2 separate regions of the Homo sapiens genome follow, and region 1 is linked to region 2. The links are contacts of gene promoters, found by promoter capture Hi-C in blood cells and fetal thymus (Javierre and others, 2016). All regions are on one chromosome and are shown on one strand. The core of a region is centred on a gene start or on the middle of the fragment in contact, and the rest is flanking DNA. Distances in the headings are between cores, read along the strand shown. Region 1 overlaps SOWAHC (sosondowah ankyrin repeat domain family member C). Region 2 holds the start of LIMS1 (LIM zinc finger domain containing 1).

Region 1 (7,492 bases), core at 1,933-4,432, 1.1 Mb after region 2:
TTCAGGGACCCAGAGCAGCCGCTGGAGGGCAGGGGGGAGGAGGGAGTGGGGGAGGAACGACCTGTTAAAGGCCACTCGCCCTTCACATTGAGACCAAAGTCCAATGTATTTGGGTAAAAATTGCTTCTTTTAGAAAATGCAAAGGTTTATTTGTCTTAATAAATTGAATACTAGGTGTTGTAAGGAAGTGAGACCAGAAGGACAAGCTAAATTATGCATTCTTACTTGAGGGATCGGAATGGATGGGGCGGAGTTCTCTTCAGGCTAGCCTTCTGGGAAAAGTGGATGTCTTTTTCAGAGATTCATCATACCTTGACCTGTACCTCTTCTCTGCCCTCCACTTCCCTGCCCTGGAGTCCGTTTCTGGAGACTAGAAATGTATCTAAATTGGGGGAACAGAATGAATGAATTAATGAATGAGAGTTCCTTTGCTTTAACCATTCCTGGATGCCTGCAAAGTAAGGAATAATGCAGTTTTTATGTATCTGATTTTATAAGGGGTTACTCTTTCAAGAGTAACAAAAAAATGCAAACTGTAATGAAACTACATTGTATTTCTAAGTGTGAAAACGACAGGCTGCCCCGTTTTTACTAATTGCATTTGCATTTTAAGGTACTACTGAAGGTCAGATCAAAGTTGAAATGCAAAAATACTAATTAGAGAATAATGTGAATAAAATGGGAATCTTCTTGGTATTTTATGTGTATTGTAAGTAGCAGTTAAATTATTTTTTTAAAAGCAATTTCAGTTTTAATCACTGAACAAAAGAAACAGGCAACATTCACTTCTGTAGTATGGTTTCCACCTATCTCTAACACCACTATTAAGGTACACCAGTGTTAAGGTACATTAATAACTACACAAAATTTTATTTAAAGAGAACACTTAGCAGCCTATGATAGTTTTCAATAAAATGTTGCCTCTCTTTCGGATTCTCACTAACTTTTGTTACTATTCTAAAAGTTTGAATTTGCTGGGGTGTTTATTCTGAGGATTATTTAACCATTGTTCTATTTGGCATAACCCTATTTAATGGTGCTTAGAGCTGAATTACCTACAGAAACTGTTTCTGGTTTAAATAATTAGCACAAATTGGCCTAAGTATTCATGAGCCCATGTTTCTGTGAAGTAATTATTAAACCAACTTAATGATTCTTATGTAAGGTACACTTTTTATTTTAATACATTGGTAGTCTCTATGACTTGTAGCAATGTTTTACAAATGTTTAAAATGCTAAACTTAATTTTCCAAGCTTTTCTTGACAATTAGATACCTATCCTGTAGTTACTGAAAATCTGGGTAGTAAATCTACCCAATTAAAATGGCACTTTATAAAAGGGAATAGAGAAGAGATGGGACTATTTCTATATTTAAATGCTGCTGGCTATTCCTTTGTATATAAATGAAAAATACCATTCATTAAAATTAAGTACTCGTTTAAGTATGGTTCTTAATTACATTTCATTCATTTATATTAGAGTAAATGGCTTCATAACTACTTTAAAATTTAACCCACAAGCATATTAAATCTGTTTGTTATAAGATTGGAAACAATTTTTGAGAGGGACTAATTTAAACAAGTCCTCCTTTAGTCTTTTGGGTCGCGTAGTTGCTGAAACCTAAGTACCTGCAGCCTACAGGATAAGGAAGTTCACAGCCTGCGGGGTGAATGAACCCATGTGTGAACTGCACAGAGCAATTCATAGAAAATGCATAGAAATTTGTAACACTTTGGTCACATCTGTCTCTAGATGGTCATTGAATTTGTTTAAAGATGGATGAAAGGCCAGGCATGGTGGCTCATGCCTGTAATCCCAGCACTTTGGGAGGCCGAGGCAGGTGGATCACTTGAGGCCAGGAGTTTGAAACCAGCCTGGCCAACATGGTGAAAACCTGTCTCTACTAAAAATACAAAAATTAGCCGAGCGTGGTGGTGCGTGCCTGTAGTCCCAGCTACTTAGGAGGCTGAGGCATGAGAATCACTTAAACCTGAGAGGTGGAGGTTGCAGTTGAGCCAAGATCACGACACTGCACTCCAGCCTGGGCAACGGAGACTCTGTCTCAAAAAAAAAAAAAAAAAAGATGAATGAAAATATGAAATATATAAACTAGTATCCATTTATTTGCATTTATTGTGGGATTTCAGATATGAACGGTGTAAATTTGAGAAGCACTTATGCATACATGTGGGTGAAAAACCAATCTAATTTTGTATAAATAAAAACAGGCTCCTGGAAGGTGAAAAGTAGTCATTTGTTCTAAATCTATACATATTACTTGTATCTAGTGCAGAATAAGCTATAACATCCCATTGAGGAATCTTAAATTTCATAGACATGTAAAGCTGAAGTAACTCTAAAGAGCAGATGCTTCAGAACCATCAGAAGGTTCTGGTCAACAGTCAGTATTATCTCTTAAATGTATATGTTGGTCACTAATTGCACAAAATCTATAATTTGCCAGGGCTTTAGAGATTGAGTCAATATGTCATTTACCATGGTTTTCCCACTGAAGGCTTTAACTTTTCTGATAAAATAATATTTTAAATTTTCAAAAACCCATTCCTGAGGAGAACTACTTCTAGCATTCCTTTTCATGATGTGCTTTTGTGCAGTAAGTAGCATTTTCGGCTACTTAACTTTACATTCCTCTTATTTTTCAGTTTCCAGTCAAGATTATAAAAAGCAAATGATTGATATAATTTGATATTCATAGAGTTGTGCCTACCTTTAATGGAAAAATACATGTCAGATACTTAGATGTTTATTGATATGAGACTATGTGGTTAAAAAACCCAAGTATGTCCATGTGTTTCTTATAAGGTACACTTGAAACTAGTGAGTGTTTGTCACATTTCACTTTCATGGTATATAAAATGCAGTTTGCATATATAACTTGAATATCTGGTACTAGTTTTTTCACGCCTGCAATCTTGGAGTCTAGGTTGCCTTGTCTCTCCTATTTTTAAATAAGTGAAATTTGGGAGATTGTAAAATCTGTAAAGTTTGTTTTGTGAAAATAAAATGTTCACAGTAGAATTTTTCTCTGAATTGTCTAAGTTTCTGTCGTCCTTTAGACTTTTTACATATACTGTGTTTTACAGTTCACAAAATGCTTTTTGAAGTTTCAGTTTATTTGACCCTTTTCCTATCCCTTAAGATTATGGGCCATATATTGTTGACTTACAGATAAGAAAATAGAGGTTAATGGTTGTTCAGGGTCACACAGTAAAAAGCTGTTAGTAAGATTATAAGAGTCAGGGCTTTCCCACAACGTTATCTTTTCTGCACATTGAATTGCCACATTTTTAGCAAAACTGCTGTAGTTTGGCACCAGTGATGGAGGAATCAACTTGGAGAGAAGGTAATACCTCCACCACTACCTAAAAAAAAGCTGTATGGGTTTTGCACACACCATCTGCCATAAACCTGCCCTACCCAGGGCTGACTTCAAGACAGGTGTAGGAATACCGTTTTTCATTTTTCAGCCTCTGTGAAGCATTGAGAGTTAATTACCTCATCAAGGCTTCCTGTGATCTGTATTTTTAGCAAAATTCAACTCTGTTGAATGGCAAAGGGATGTGGTACTCCTTTGGTGTAATCGCCCACTATTGCTCTATCCGGGAGATCCCACTGTGATGGCTGCTGGGGTTATTCTTGTTTTATGATAACCCATAAAATATTTTTCAGGATCACTGAAAGACTAGATAAGTAGTTTGTTTTTCTAGAATAACTTCTTTCCTTAGAAGTACATGTCTTAAAAGGATTTATTAACCAGTTCACTTAAAGATATTTTTGAAATTTTCCTAGTAAAAATTATTTTTATTTTGCTAAGTAAATAGCATTATTTGGAGTTTCTTACATGATTAATTCCAGGATTAAATACTTGGAATTTGCTGTAAACCAGTATTCCTTCAATGATCACCCAAGTCTTCATAAATCACTGAATATTAGAGGGTTGGAAGATGACTCTACAGAAACTTGTTTCTCAAGATACAGAAGTCATGTGGTTCACATAACTACCTGCTTTTTCCATGAAGAACACTATACTTTTTTTCTCAATCTTCTCTTTAAATGTCAGTTTCATCTCAGTAAGTAGCTTTCCTATTCTGTTAACTAATAGCCTATTTTTCCACATCGATGCATTGGTAAGGAATGTGTGACAAATGTTCTACCCTTGCACAGTGCCTGGCATGTTGAAGGTACTCAGTAAGGGTCTTTTAATGGAAAACATTAAATATTTTATAATGTTACATAATATGGATAATTCAATTACATGCATTCATGCTATGTGAATAGTTTTTTTATATAACATGGCTCTTAAATACCAGCCTATCAGTTCATCTGCAGCTCAGCCAAAAGAACAGCAAGTTATTCCAATCCTGAAGATAAAATCAGCTTTATTAGAACTGTACTTCGTGAGCGATTTAAGAGATTTTCAAGAGTAAATTTGATTATAAGAAAATTTTGCTGGGCGTGGTGGCTCACGCATGTAATCCCAGCACTTTGGGAGGCCGAGGCAGGAGCATCGCCTGAGGTCAGGAGTTCAAGACCAGCCTGGCCAACATGGTGAAACCCAGTCTCTACAAAAAATACACAAATTAGCTGAGCATGGTGGTGCATGCCTGTAATCCCAGCTACTTGGGAGGCTAAGGCAGGAGAATCACTTGAACCCGGGAGGCGGAGGTTGCAGTGAGCTGAGATTGTGCCACTGCACTCCAGCCTGGGCATCACAGCGACTCTGTCTCAAAAAAAAAATAGAAAGAAAGAAAGTTTCCTTACAAGCTGACTCAAGTCCAAGACCTGTAGGAGAAATTATTCTAATTGGCCTTAAATAGTCTAAGTACTGTCAGGTATACAAATGACTACTTATTCTGTGAAATCCCAAAGAGCAAATGAATAGGGAAATGAAGTTTAGTTTAACATGGAGAACTTTCTAATAATCATTTTAAACATACCATGGACTGCCTTGTGAGATAGAACATTCAGCCTTTGGAAATGTGTCAGAGGTTGCATGAGCACCTGAAAATTTAAAATAGATCATTTTAAAGCACACTTGTGACCAGTTCTGTCTCAAGAAACACTGCTCTAAACCATATTCATTCTGACCAAAGCTTTGGCCAAAAGCAGCCTAACTTAGGATAAAGTTAACCAGTGCTTTGCCAGTGGTATAAAGTAGAATCATATAAGTTGTTGGTTTGTTGTTGTTGTTTTCTTTTTGAGATGGAGTCTTGCTCTGTTGCCAGGCTGGAGTGCAGTGGCGTGATCTTGGCTCACTGCAACCTCTGCCTCTCCGGTTCAAGCGATTTCCCTGCCTCAGCCTCCCGAGTAGCTGGGACTACAGTCGCGCGCCACTACGCCCAGATAATTTTTTGTATTTTAATAGAGACGGGGTTTCACCATGTTGGCCAGGATGGTCTCGATCTCCTGACCTCGTGATCTGCCCACCTCGGCTTCCTAAAAGTGCTGGGATTACATGTGTGAGCCACTTTTTTTTTTAACCCAACTTTATGCTATTCTGATCAAAGAACCTGGGAGCCCTCCATTAGAATAGTCTTCTGGATCTCTAAGAAACTTTGAATATAATAGTTTAGAAACATAATTGAGCATTCTTGAGATTTGTCCAGAAATTTCTGATATTGATGTTGGATCTTTGAATTTGCATTTAAGAGGCAATGATGGCCAGGTGCGGTGGCCTACACCTGTAATCCCAGCACTTTGGGAGGCCAAGGCAGGTGAATCACGAGGTTAGGAGTTCGAGACCAGCCTGGCCAACATAATGAAACCCCATCTCTACTAAAAATACAAAATATTAGCTAGGCATAGTGGTGGGCACATGTAATCCCAGCTGCTTGGGAGGCTGAGGCAGGATAATCTCTTTAACCCGGGAGGCGGAGGTTGCAGTGAGCTGAGATTGCACCACTGTACTCCAGCCTGGTCCACAGAGTGAGACTCCATCTCAAAAATAAATAAATAAATAAATAAATAAATAAAGAGGGAATTATTTGGTTGTAGTCAGTTCAGCACTATTGAGCAAAGAATCACCTTTGGCTTAGCCAGGTTTAGAATCACCTAGGTGCTGACATGGCAGCAAGACTAAGGTTAAGACTAAGACGGCTAAGACTTTCAGGAAGCTTACTATATATACCCGATGAGGTTTCAAGTACTTTATAAAAAGCAAGCTGTTTAACTCTCATAATACCCCTTCCCTGATTCTAGTACCTCACTTCTACTGATGGAGAACTGAAATGCAAAAACCCAAATAGCTGCTACTTGCCCAAGGTCACAAAGCTAGTTCTTAGCAGTTCAGCTTTGTGCTCAGGCAGACTGGCTCTAAGGTTTGTGGGAAGCCCTAGTGGTACAGGAAATACCACTTCTTTGGGAACATAAGAGACAGTCAACTGGCCTGAAGTTTATGGGGCTAGCACCTAATGAAGTACAAATGATACAGGAAATTCATACTATTGCAGAAGAGAGCAAACTAAGAACCAAAAACAAGCATTAATGATTGAGACAGATAATGACTTGAACACTCTGTTGTTACTTCACAGCAGTAGGGTTAGAACTGGATTTTTAGGGGTTTGCATTTTCCAGTGTCACCTAGGATCAAATTAATTTGGGTCAGGAAAGAATATTTCTTCAGCTCAGAATGGTGGAGCTGCTAAAATATTTGAGGTGTAGTTATATTTCTTTGTTTAGGCTCACCTCCCCTCTGTCCAGTCCCCTTTCACTTGTCTAAGCACTTAAGCATTAACGGAAGGGCTTAGCCCACTTCCACATAATCATGAGATTAAACGCCAGCGTAGAAGAAAACCAGCAACACGGCATCTGGTTTTCGTACTATACATTTATAAATTTGCAACCCACTAAAAGAATTTTGATAGTTCATTTTGAGGCCGGGCACAGTGGCTCATGCCTGTAATCCCAGCAATTTGGGAGGCTGAGGCAGGTGGATCACCTGAGGTCAGTAGTTCGAGACCAGCTGGCCAACATGGTGAAACCCTGTGTCTACTAAAACTACACAAATTAGCCAGGTGTGGTGGCACAGGCCTGTAATCCCAGCTACTCGGGAGGCTGAGAAAGAAGAATCACTTGAACCCAGGAGGCAGAGCTTGCACTGAGCTGAGATTGTGCCATTGCACTCCAGCCTGGGCAACAGAGTGAAACTCTGTCTCAAAAAAGAAAACAACAACAACAACAACAAAAAGATAGTTCATTTTGGCACAGGCGGGAGTGTTATGTTTGTTCTATCGGAATCTATTACAAAGGGTGCTATTTTCCCTGCCTGTAAATCCCTAGTGGCCTCTTCCTTGAGCCCATACCCACCCCCGGCCACTTGTCAGTGTCCTCCTCTGTGCCCCTGCATGTCCCTCTCTGGTGCACCACCAGTTTTCTTGCCCACTGTCCAACTGCTCTCCAGAGGGGATATCTCAGCCACACAGCTATCCTGAGCAGGCTTGTACTCGGGGGCTGTTTATGGGTTAACAGAAT
Region 2 (6,725 bases), core at 477-2,976:
TATTTATTTAGAGACAGAGTCTTGCTCTGTCGCCCAGGCTGGACTGCAATGGCGCGATCTCGGCTCACTGCAACCTCTGTCTCCCAGGTTCAAGTAATTCTCCTGCCTCAGCCTCCCAAGTAGCTGGGATTACAGGAACCCCGCCACCACAACCGGTGAAATTTTTGTATTTTTATTAGAGACGGGGTTTCACCATGTTGGTCAGGCTGGTCTCAAACTCCTGACCTCAGGTGATCCACTCACCTCAGCCTCTCCAAGTGCTGGGATTACACGCGTGAGTCACCGTGCCCGGCCTACATTTATCAATTTTTAATTTTATGGTTTATATGCTCTTTGAAAAGTCTCTCACCACTCCAACCTTACTTTTGTTTTTTTCCCTTGTTTTCTTCTGGTATTTTCATAACCTCTCTCTTTTTTTTTTTTTTTTTTTTTGTTTTTTGAACATTTAACTATTTGCTTTGTTTGGAATTTACTTTCATGTGAGGACATCAAATAGATCCAGTGTTTTCCTCCGACATGCCTCGACTGGCAGGAGACCAAAGTTTTCATTCTATTACTAGAGAGTAGCTATAGTTACAGAATCAGGTATCCTGAGAGAGATCATTTATGCCCAGGATGAATAACTTGTCTTATCTATTAAATCTATTAAATCCTTTGGAGATTTCACTTTTTTTTTTTTTTTTTTTTGGGACGGAGCCTGTTACCTAGGCTGGAGTGCAGTGGCGCGATCTCCCAGCTCACCACAAGCTCCGCCTCCCAAGTTCAAGCGATTCTCCTGCCTCAGCCTCTCGAGTAGCTGGGATTACAGGCATGTGCCACCACCACGCCCGGCTAATTTTGTATTTTTAGTAGAGACGGGGTTTCTCCATGTTGGTCAGGCTGGTCTCGAACTCCTGACCTCAGGTGATCCGCCTGCCTCAGCCTCCCAAAGTGCTGGGATTACAGGCGTGAGCCACTGCGCCGGCCCCAAAATTTCAGGTTTTGATAGACGGAATGGGTGAAGAAAATGAGAGCTAGCAAGGAAGAACAGGATGCAGAGGCAAGACTGGAAACTCTCCAAGAAAGGTTAACTTTTCTTAACTCACAAGTTAAACAAAGGCTGCAGGCTCCATGCGGAGCTCAGGCACCCAGCGGTGACCGATCCAGACCAGGTCCTCCCGGAAGCCCGGCCTGCCCGACAGAGCCTTACCACAGAGCCCCCTCAGGCGTCCTCGCCAGGACGGGGCGGAACCCTGTGTAGCTCCCACCCCCGGGACGAAGGCCGCTGCCAGGGCCGCGCAGCCACGCGAGTGGAATCAGAGGAGCCTCGAGGCAAGGAGAGCCGGGCCCCGCTCCCTGCGCCCGTCACCGCCATCCTTGTTGTAGGGAACTCGGCCCCCGAGCCGCCGCCGCGCTCCGTGGGCTCCCAATGAGCCCCTACCCCAGCCACCCGCTGCGTTTGCGCCAGCCTCCCAGACTAGCCTGGGGTGCTGAAATGGGGGCGGGCCCGAGCCACGGGTTGGGGCGGGGTCTGATGCGCGCCCCGCCCCGCAACGCCCCGCCCCCCCGCGCCTACCTCTCCAGTCCGCGCCCTTCGGCGCCCGCCCCGCCAGTCCCCGCCCCTCCTTGCCCAGCCGCTCCCGCCCCTCCCCCGCCTTCCCGCGCGGCCCGCCTCGCCTTCCCCCCCCTCCCGCGCCCCCGCGCGGCCGGCCCCTGGCCTTCCTCCCCTTCCTGCTCCGGGCCCGCCAGTAGCCGGCCGCGGCGGCGAGGGACTAGGACGCGGCTGGAGCGGCGCCGGGAGACGAGGGGCTGAGAGACGGCGGCGGCCGAAAGCGGAGAGATGCTGGGCGTGGCGGCCGGGATGACCCACAGGTACGGGCCGCACCGCGCGGCCCCCGCCACGTCCGCCCCGCAGCTCCCGGCGGGCCTTCGGGCCGGGCCGGGCCGGGCCTGGCGCGGGCGGGCGGCCGGGCTTTCCCCGCGGCCTCCCCCGGTCGGCCGGAGCCCCGACCCCCAGCGCTCGGGTGGCGGCGTGGCTGCGTCCGGGCCCGCGGAGGAGACGGCTGCTGTTCACTCCCGGGTGTCCGCGGTGGCACAGGCGCTGACGCCGCCCCGCTGCTCCGAGAGTTCCATAAGACAAATCAGTATTTGCCGAGCTAATCATTTATCTTCTAGCAGTAGGGATCAGCGGGTCGCAGACGTCTTGGTCTCAGGACCCCTCTTGGGACTAGAGGACCTGGAATGGTGGCTATCTCCATAGACTGTACTAGAAAGGAAAACCGAGACACTGAAGTTACTATTAACTCATTGAATAAATCCGTGGTATGTTAACGTACATACCACATTTTTATGCAACATAGGGTTTTGCTAAAACAAAAGAGTTCGTGGGACGACTGGCGTCCTTTACAGTTTGCGAATCTCTTGAGTTGTCTGACTTAGTAGAGACAACTACGTTCTCCCATCTCCTTTGCAGTTCAGTCTGTTGCGGTATGTTTTTATATGAAGAAAATCTGATCTTACACAGATGTGTAGTTGGAAAAGTGAGTACTGTCTTAATAGCTGTTTCAGATAATTATGGGTATTCTTTATTACTACACCAAAACTACGTAAGTGGAAGTTTCTCAAAGGCTGGTTTGGACGTGGAATCTGAAGCTACTGTCAGCGGACTTTTCACACAGTTTCGTTAAAATTCCTTGGTCTGTCTTGCAGTTTGAATGCAGCTAAAGCTCCTGTCAGTGGCCTTTGCACACAGTTACGTTAAAATTCCTTGGTCTGTCTTGCAGTTTGAATGCAGCTGTTACCCATTGTAACACCATATATTTGTCGTTTGGAAGATATTGGCTCACTGAGTTTGGCAGATCTCAAGCTGACGCATTTCATTAATAGCGCCGAATAACATTCGTTACCATCGCTATTGATTTCATTAGGAAAGTCTTTATGTTAAAAGCCGTCAGATACAAGGTGGTGTTTACAAGTTTTCCAAAATTCTCATTTTCGGTTGAAAGCTTGCTTTTTATCATTGGGAGCAAAATATTGTCAATTGTTTTCCTCAAAGTGACAGACTCACTTTGTTCAGTTTCAAGGAAGTGTCCGGCAATACAGGTTTAAATAACCCTAGTTTGTCAGTTGTTCTTTCCCGTAAAAATGGTATTTCATGACACAAGCAAGTTAATTCAGCTCATCGCTCTATTACAGAAGTGCACGCCTGCCATTTGGTCACAAGTAACAAAAAAGAGTCAAAGCTCAAGATTTGATAACAATAATTTGTACTCCTTCATCATGGACTTTTTTCCTTAAAAAAAAGTATTGACTAGTAAGTTGATATAAAATTTAAAGTATTTGTGAGATATTAAGAATAACGGATATGTAGTGTAATAAAGGAGATAATAGTTTCCTTTTAAGACCTTCAAACCTCTCTGGTCCAGTGTCTCTCCGCATCCTATCCCCTTCCCATCCTGAATTTACCATTAGTAATTTACTTTTTGGAGGGAGAGTAATAAGTTCATTCAAATTATTGTGCATCCGTAACCATCATACATGTCCAGAAATCTTTATCTTACAAAACTGAAACTCTGTACCTATTAAACAATAATTCTCCATTCCCCTCCTCCCGCCAGTCCCTGGCAGCCATCATTTTAATTTCTGTCTATGACTTTGACTACTGCTGGTACCTCATATCTCATGTAAGTGGAATCATACGCTATTTGTTGTGCATGTCATAGTTTGTTCCTTTTTGTTGCTCAGTAGTGCTCCATGGTATGGATGTACAGCAGTTTAACTGTTCACATGTTTGAAGGACATTCAGGCTGTTAGTTTTGGGCTATTAAGAAAGCTACTACGAACAAATAGACAGGTGTTTGTTGTTGTTTTTGAGACAGTGTCTTGCTTAGTCACCCAGACTGGAGTGGAATGCAGTAGCATGATCATGACTTACTGCACCCTAGACCTCCCAGGCTGAAGCAATCCTTCCACCTCAGTCCCCCAAGTAGCTGGGACTACAGACACACGCCACCATGCCTGGATAATTTTTGTATTTTTTTGGTAGAAACAGGGTTTCGCCATGTTGTCCAGGCTAGTCTGGGGGTCCCAAACTCCTGGGTTCCAGCAGTCCACCCACCTCAGCCTCCCAAAGTGCTGGAATTTTAGAGCCACTGTGCTCAGCCTGTCTAAGTTTTATGTGAATGTAACTTTTCCTTTTCTGGGATAAATGTCCAAGAGTGTGCAATTGGCAGGTTGTACAGAAATCGTATGTTTAGTTTTTTGAGAAACTGACAGTTTTTTTCCAGCATGACTGTACCATTTCACTTAAAAAGTGAAATTGACATTATTTTCCTGTGAGTACATAAAGGTAAAGAATTCAGGGACAGTACCACGGCCCTCTTTAGTGCTAAGCGGCCAGCAGTTGTACCGACTGTTGTTTTTGCACTATCTGTGTGTCAACACAGTCCACAATGCTACAGTGACTTCTTAGGAATATCTTAGTATGATGAAAATAGTTTTGATCTCTCGGATCCCTTAGAAAGGTCTTGGAGACCCTCAGGAGTTCAAGGCCATACTTTAAGAACCACTGTTAAAGACATAATCCTAAATGATGAAGGATATGCAGGTATTGGGGATATTTAAAAAGGAACAAATACAAGGTTTCTCTTAAAATTGCTCTTGAATGCTTGTGGTAGTGTGTGCCTTGTAGTTTTGGCTAGTTTTAGTAGGATGTAATAACTAAGACTTGGACCACCATGGAAGAAGCAACTTTCTGCCTTTCAGGATTTTCCCTGATAAGAAAATGGCCAGTGCCATTATGAAGAGGGACAATGCCATGGGCCTAAGTGTATTCACACTTTTCAGTGCTCTGTGCCTGTTTGTATGGTGAGAAAATCGAACTGTTGATTTTTAAGAAAGCTAAGGAAAGTTTGGTGGTACAAAAGATCATTTCAGTTCTGGTGGTTCCGGTTTTTGCAGGCTTAGAGAAAACTGTCCATCAGGATTGTGCTGTCTTGATTTTATTTGATCATTCCCACCCTTTTCCCTTTGCTGTAGCCCCTTGACCTGTCTCCTGGGCAGTTCTTTCCTTTGCTAAATGTGAGTACAACAAGTAGGCTTTCCTTTCCTCCTAGAGAGGGGGACCTTGGAGCCCCTCCACTGGGTCAGAGAAACTTCCATAGCTGCAGCAGATCAGTAACAGGAGAGCCGAGCTTTACTCTGAAAGCCTCTATTTTCAATAATGTTGTGTTTGCTCTTTGGATAATCATTTAAATAAATAAACCTCAGTATAGGTCATGTTCTTACCTAGGTTTGCACTTAAATAGAAGGAAAAACATCTCAAACCATTTTGTTAGTTTTATAGTTCTCGTAACTACACTTTAAGCTGTGGTTTTCCACCCACAGGGATGTCATCTACATTATATGCTGGACTGTTGCCACATTGTCTTCCAAAAACTTTAATTTTAAGACACTTGAGAAGCAGGAGCTGCACTACCTGTTGCCATATACTGTGCATTCTTCAGCAACAGAGGTTTCCTTTTCACTCTTTCTGATATAATCTCATCTCTTTTATTTGATCATATCACACATTTCCACCCTGGAGCTTACTGCAGGAATGAGTAAGGGAGTCATTTTCCTGCATCTTTTTTCACGTTGGAGCACGTTTTGGAGCTTGATGAGTCTTCAGTGACATTTAACAGTGGGGCGGGACAGCTGCAGATAAAGCAAGTGCTGAAGAGTGCATTCTGTGAGAGGTAGGAAGAAAGGTGAAGGCAGTAGTTCAGCTGCTGGGAGTATGTGCTTGGCAGTGGGAGGCACGGGACTCAGCATCAGCACACCAGGAATCCAGGGCTTTCAGGATGTCTGAGTAGCAGGCAAGGTAAAGCAAGATAACAGACAACATGCATTTACAAGTAATGTTTACACATACTTTCCCTTTCTACAAAAATGGAATCATAGTCATACTATTCTGCAATTGCTTTTTTTAGTATTAAAAAAGTTACGGGAAAACATGCAAAACAAAATTTACTATTTTAACCATTTTTGAGTGTACAGTTCTGTGGCATTATGTACATTGACGTTGCTGTGCAACCATCACTACCCTTCCTTCCAAGAACTTTTTCATCTTCCCAAACTGAAACTCTGTGACCAGTAAATACCAACTCCCCATTTCTTGCAATTGCTTTTTTACTTCAACAAGCTGTCTTAGAGCGGTGTATCTGGGTTTACCTTATGTTTTTTAACCTTAGTTTTAATGGCTGCATAGTATTTCACAGTGTACATGTGATATGATTTGTACATCCAGTCCTTGACTAGTGGTTATTTGGGTTCTATTTTTTAATTATCACAAACACTTTGAACATCTCTGCCAGAGTGTTTTTTGTTTTGTTTTGTTTTTGAGACAAGGTCTCACTCTGTCACCCAGGCTGGAGTAAAGTGGTGCAATCATGGCTCACTGCAGCCTCAACCTCCTGGGGTCAGGTGATCCTTTCACCTTAGACTTCTGAGTAGCTGGGACAACAGGTACATGCCACTATGCCCGGCTAATATTTTGTATTTTTTGTAGTGACAGGGTTTCCCCATCTTGCCCAGCCTAGTGTTGAATTCCTGGCCTCAAGCGATCCGCCCTTCTCGGCCTCTCAAAGTTCTGGGATTACAGGCGCGAGCCACTGCACCCAGCTACCAGAGTTTTCATAGCTTTCTGAGTGTAGAGTTAGTATGTGCATGAGTGTTTGGGTCCATGTTCTAGTCCTAGTTCTGTCCCT

The links. Contacts are between HindIII fragments. The CHiCAGO score rates a contact against its expected background, and 5 or more counts as called.
Region 1: a fragment that was not itself captured here is called in contact with the fragment with the promoter of LIMS1 in region 2 in 2 of 17 cell types (fetal thymus and total B cells); the score reaches 6.8 in fetal thymus.

What each region holds. Positions count from the first base shown.
Region 1 is chr2:109,615,951-109,623,442 of GRCh38, forward strand. SOWAHC (sosondowah ankyrin repeat domain family member C) reads left to right here. Exons shown (of 1, transcript NM_023016.4): 1 at 1-3,040. The coding sequence ends at 117. It also overlaps a transcript of RANBP2 not described here. Among named protein-coding and RNA genes, the nearest start is that of SOWAHC, 5.3 kb to the left of the region's middle. The HindIII fragment of the contact is 3,861 bases long and covers 1,253-5,113 here.
Region 2 is chr2:108,532,744-108,539,468 of GRCh38, forward strand. It overlaps LIMS1 (LIM zinc finger domain containing 1), which reads left to right and starts at 1,727. Exons shown (of 10, transcript NM_001193483.3): 1 at 1,727-1,851. The coding sequence starts at 1,820. GCC2-AS1 (GCC2 antisense RNA 1) reads right to left here and starts at 1,476. Exons shown (of 3, transcript NR_135290.1): 1 at 1,086-1,476. RefSeq lists silencers at 590-884, 1,373-1,972. The HindIII fragment of the contact is 7,547 bases long and covers 1-2,982 here.